2 separate regions of the Homo sapiens genome follow, and region 2 is linked to region 1. The links are contacts of gene promoters, found by promoter capture Hi-C in blood cells and fetal thymus (Javierre and others, 2016). All regions are on one chromosome and are shown on one strand. Each heading gives the region's core, a stretch centred on a gene start or on the middle of the fragment in contact. The rest is flanking DNA. Distances are from core to core; before and after follow the strand shown. Region 1 holds the start of FAM8A1 (family with sequence similarity 8 member A1). Region 2 holds the start of MYLIP (myosin regulatory light chain interacting protein).

What was found. Contacts are between HindIII fragments. The CHiCAGO score rates a contact against its expected background, and 5 or more counts as called.
Region 2: a contact is called between the fragment with the promoter of MYLIP here and the fragment with the promoter of FAM8A1 in region 1, in 1 of 17 cell types (non-activated CD4 T cells). The highest score is 5.2, in non-activated CD4 T cells.

The regions. Positions count from the first base shown.
Region 1 is chr6:17,599,039-17,601,738 of GRCh38, forward strand. It overlaps FAM8A1 (family with sequence similarity 8 member A1), which reads left to right and starts at 1,264. Exons shown (of 5, transcript NM_016255.3): 1 at 1,264-2,083. The coding sequence starts at 1,372. RefSeq lists a silencer at 1,123-1,602 and an enhancer at 2,669-2,700. The HindIII fragment of the contact is 5,181 bases long and covers 1-2,558 here.
Region 2 is chr6:16,127,652-16,130,351 of GRCh38, forward strand. MYLIP (myosin regulatory light chain interacting protein) reads left to right here and starts at 1,435. Exons shown (of 7, transcript NM_013262.4): 1 at 1,435-1,758. The coding sequence starts at 1,672. RefSeq lists a silencer at 1,117-2,116. The HindIII fragment of the contact is 2,730 bases long and covers 1-2,464 here.

The DNA of each region.
Region 1 (2,700 bases), core at 14-2,513:
GCCCGCCACCACGCCTGGCTAATTTTTAGTATTTTTAGTAGAGACGGGGTTTCACTGTGTTAGCCAGGATGGTCTCGATCTCCTGACCTTGTGATCCGCCCGCCTCAGCCTCCCAAAGTGCTGAGATTACAGGCGTGAGCCACCGCGCCCGGCCTTGTCCAGTCATTTTTTTATACGGCTGTCCATGCTTTGTTGAACCTAAGCATACAAATACACGATTTCCCTTGTTATCTTTGGGTCTTCATTCTGAAGGCTCCCGTGTCACATAAAACGATGGTCAAATCAATGTCTATGTCTTTTCTCCTATTAACTGCCTCCTGTCAGTGACTTTCAGCGAAACTTCAGAAGGTGAAGCGGAAGTTTTCCTTTGGCCCGGACAGCATCATCATTAATATCATTAATAAATATTCCCACAGTATTTGGCCCTTGTATGTCCTTTGTATGGTGCTGGGGATACAATAACATATCGCTGCAGAGATTTTCAAATGTAAAAGAAGAGAGATTATACTGATTTAAAAGCTAGATTCTGTCCTCACCCTGGAGCTAGTCTGCATTTACGAAAACTTACTTTCCACTGCGGTAGACAGACGCTTTCTACTCCAGCGCAACTGTGCCTTTCCTCAAATCTAGTCTCAAATTTAGGTTCCTTTTCATTTTCTGTTATGGAAAGGCCCTCAGCGTATCCCAGGCTTTGGAGCCTTTTGTTAGTAGTCTGGCCCATGCATAATTTCCCCTTCCTCTGAATTATACATAGCACCTCACTAGTTATATTTTAATACACTTTCCTATGTCTCAGTGGTAGTTTCCTATATTAATATATATCCCAGTTTAGTTTGGCTTTTAATTTCTTTTCTTCTAAGGGGATAGATGCGTTCTGTACCACCTTCTCGAGTACTAATGGTTAACTGGAATGAACACAAGCAACAAACCCTCCGGCCTGGATCCCAAAACAACAGTCGCGGTTCTGCAACAGAAAAGGCTGCGCTGGCCCTGGGACCTGTCTCGGAAATACTCCTCATCCATCTAGTTTCTCCCAGGACAACTAGGCCCAACCCCACGGGAATATACAGAGAGGCCTCGGGTCACAGACTTAAAGCTGTAAAAGGGAGGAGGCGACGGTCTGGTCCCAGTCACCGACCAGCCACCGACTACTAGGGCCCGAACCCGGGACTGCAGACGCACCTCCCCGCCCTCCCTTCCCAGCTCCGCCTGGCGGCGGGCGTTGCTCCTGAGGGGCGGGGCTTCCGCTTCCGGCGGGGGATTGTTGACGCCTGCGGTTGCTGCGGTGGTGACGGGGCTGTTGGGGAGGGGCCATTGGGGGAGGGAAACGGAGCAGTGACAGGTATCCCAGAGGGTGCTGCTGAGGCGACGATGGCCGAGGGGCCCGAGGAAGCCCGAGGCCACCCTCCCGGGCAGGACGATGGCGGAGGGGACCACGAGCCCGTCCCTTCCCTGAGAGGCCCTCCTACCACCGCCGTCCCATGCCCCCGCGACGACCCCCAGGCCGAACCCCAGGCCCCGGGCCGGCCCACAGCCCCGGGCCTCGCGGCTGCCGCCGCAGCCGACAAATTGGAGCCGCCGCGCGAGCTCAGGAAGCGCGGGGAGGCGGCCTCCGGCTCCGGTGCAGAGCTGCAGGAGCAGGCGGGCTGCGAGGCGCCCGAAGCCGCGGCGCCACGAGAGAGACCAGCTCGGCTGAGCGCCCGCGAGTACTCCCGGCAAGTGCACGAGTGGCTGTGGCAGTCCTACTGCGGCTACCTCACCTGGCACAGCGGCCTGGCCGCCTTCCCAGCCTACTGCAGCCCCCAGCCCTCCCCGCAGAGCTTCCCTTCGGGCGGCGCTGCAGTCCCCCAGGCCGCGGCGCCGCCGCCCCCGCAGCTGGGCTATTACAACCCCTTCTACTTCCTGAGCCCCGGGGCCGCGGGGCCTGACCCGCGGACAGCTGCCGGCATCAGCACCCCTGCTCCAGTCGCGGGCCTGGGACCCCGGGCTCCTCACGTGCAGGCGTCGGTCCGGGCCACTCCAGTGACGAGGGTAGGATCCGCAGCCCCTTCGCGAAGCCCGAGCGAGACCGGGCGACAGGCAGGTGAGAAGCGCGAGGTGGAGGCTGGGCGGAGTAGAAGGGTTTTCGGGGGCCTGTGGGGTAGAGCTGGCACGCTTTTTAGACCTGTAACTGCTGCTTCTACTCTGATTGACTATCCTGCCCGTTCAGTTCACTAGCTATCGTTTGTCCAGGCCCTAAATTCCCAAAATGTACAAGGAGGCAATACAGTTTCTTCTTCCTTTAGACCTGGCACTCCAAATTGACTCCCTTACTCATGGGACTAGTTGTTTATTCGTGAAAAGAAATTGCTCTTCAAACCATCCTCTTCCTTTGGTTTTCACGCTCTGCAGTGAGGGCCAAAGCTAAATTCGCAAATGGCAAACCCACTTTTGGAGGGGCTCGACTGGTAATGCTGAAAATTATTCAGACATTGGCTACTTAGGACAGTGGAACTGAACGGATATAAAAGGAGATCGACATGGATACAAGTGGAGTTAGGAAGTTTTGATTGGGTCAAAGCTTCACTTCATTTGATCAATATCTTGTATATTGTGTAATTGTTTTTGCTTCTGTGTGTGAACTAGAATATTTTGAATTAGTTACACTTCTTAGTTTACTATTTAAACTATTAGACTTTTAGTTTATTTTAGTTAGCCACA
Region 2 (2,700 bases), core at 185-2,684, 1.5 Mb before region 1:
GAAACCGGGCTGGTCTCAAACTGCTGGGCTCAGGCGATCCTCCTGCCTCGGCCTCCAAAAGTGCTGGGATTACAGGTGTGAGCCATCGAGCTGGCCTGAAGTAAGTTTGCTAAGTTTCCACGGCTGAAACCCACATCATCTGGCTCCTATAAAGAAATCAAAAAGGTAGGCTATGTAATATATTGGCAAAGAGGAACAAGCGGTAAATGAGTGAAGGGTTGTAGACCTTTAATAGCTAATATTGCAGTAATGCCACCTGTTAGGTCAGGAGATGAGCACCTTACCTTAAGACGAGGACAACATCTGGTTGCCTGTGAGAAGGGACAGGCAGGGTATCAGGTGCTGCACAAATGTTTAATGAATGAGTGAGATAAGACAGGAGGTAGAATGAGCAACCTGAGAGAGGGCCTGGTACCCTGTAAGGCGTTTTGATTCAGCAGAACGAGTAAGGAGAAGCCCTTCCGGAGTGTAACACACCAGCACTAGACCAAGACACCTGGCTCACTGGTCAGCTGCAAAAACTTTCATACTCAGATTTTGTTTTTCTCAATGATGAGGTCTTAATAAGGAACAACAATTCTGCCTCCAAGCAACCCACTGTGGCTAATCCTGGTGGAAAAGAGTTTTCTTTTTCTCTTTTTTTTTTCTTTTTTCTTTTTCTTTTCTTTTTTTTTTTTTTTTTTTTTTTTTTTTTGAGACAGGGTTTTTTGCTCTTCTTGCCCAAGCTACAGTGCAGTGACACAATCTCAGCTCACTGCAACCTCCGCCTCCTGGGTTCAAGCGATTCTCCTGCCTCAGCCTCCCAGGTAGCTGGGATTACAGGTGCCCGCCACCACGCCTGGCTATTTTGTTTTTTTTTTTGTATTTTTAGTAGAGACGGGGGTTTCACCATGTTTGCCAGGCTGGTCTCGAATCTGACCTCAGGTGATCCACCCATCTCGGCCTCCCAAAGTGCTGGGATTACAGGCGTGAGCCACCATGCCCGGACGAGAACAGTTTTCTTTAGGCTTTGGGTTGCTCCTTTTCCTTTTTGCTTTCACAACCGAAATGCGTGCTCAGAGTGATCCAAGATATTTGAAGAACAGTGGCAGCTTGGAGGTGTTTAATCACCGTAAATTCGAGACGGCAGAAAGGCGTCCCCGCCTGGAGCCCCGGGCGATCGCTCACTCTGAGCAGCGTCGCCCAGCGGACAGAGGCGGCTGGTGTGTTCCGGGGTCTCCCTCCCTTCCCGCAGCACTCGGCGCCCGCAAGCTGCCACCTCCCGGGGCGGCCAGGGAAACTCAGCCGGCTCTGGGAGGCGGGGGCCGCGGTCGAGGGGCGCCGCTATTGGCTGATCGGGCGGGGGAGGAGGGGCAGGGAGGCCGTGATTGGCGGGGACCCGAGCTGAAGGGGGCGGGGCCGCTATATCAGCAGAGTCCCTGTCGCAGCGCAGGCAGTTGGGCTGCTGGAGTGCGGCGCCACCGCGGAGGACAGGGGCAGCTGGCGGGCAGCGGGTGAGGGGGTGGCGGGGACGCGAGTGGCGGCCGCGGGGCCCCGGACAAGGGTCCGCAGAGCTGCAGCCTTCGAGGGCCAGCCCTCTCCGAGTCCGGGGCTGGGTCCCACCAGTGACAAGGCGGCAGCCCCGCGCACACCAAAGAGAAGGCGGCTGTGGCGGCAGCGGCAGCCCCAGCCATGCTGTGTTATGTGACGAGGCCGGACGCGGTGCTGATGGAGGTGGAGGTGGAGGCGAAAGCCAACGGCGAGGACTGCCTCAACCAGGTGAGGGCGAGGGGCAAGAAGGGGCCCCGGCGGGTCCCGCGAGGCCGAGGGGCCTCGCAGCGACGCCTGGCACTCTGGCGCGCCCCCTACTAGGGGCCGGGAGGCACTGCGGCGGCAGCCGGGGGGAGCGCGTCCCCTCCTCTCCACGGGCGTGGGGCGCGCGGTCTCCTCCTGGCGCGCGTGGGGTGCGCGGAGAAAGCGCGCAGCGGGGGTCCCCAGCGCTGAGGGCCGGGCGCAGCCCGCAGCCGGGATCCACCCCCCAGCGCCCCATCATCCCCCCAACCCAGCACTTTCCCGGAAGAAGGCGGCTCCGCACACCTGCCGCAGGTATGTGCGTGATGCCGCCTGTCGGGTCCCCGCGGCGCCTGGCAGTGCCACCCGCGTGCCAGGATGGGATGGAGTGGCTCGAAGCAGTCTCGGGCCCCAGGGGTTCTTGGCAGACAAGCCGGGCCCTTGTCTCACGCTGCTTCTCAGGCTGCTGCTCTCAAATGCACCGTTCACCTGCATCTCCGGGTTTGCGGGGGACGGGAGGAATAGGTTTGGGTCATCTACTGCTCGGTTGTTTTTAAGCATGTGTTTCCTTAACAGTGAGGGAGATCGGTGCCAAATAGTGCAGAGGTGGTATGGCAGACAGCACATGTGATCCCAGGAAAACGCTGTGCCCTCAACCCCTCTAGCTCTGAGATGTTTGGAAAACCGCTTGTGAAGCTTAGCTGACACTTGTGGCGTGTTCCCTCAATGTGTTTGATTTTTGGAGTCCAAATGGTTAAAATTGCCCAGATAATAAGTCGCCAAAAATCAGCTGTGCAGAGTATGCTGGTGGAGGGAATTCCGGTGATTGGAATACGAAGGAAAATACCCTGTAGTTTCCCCTCCTCATCTTTTGGAAGGCTACTTTTGAGGACTCCTTTTTTCTCTATTGCAATTGGTCATGCCCTAGAC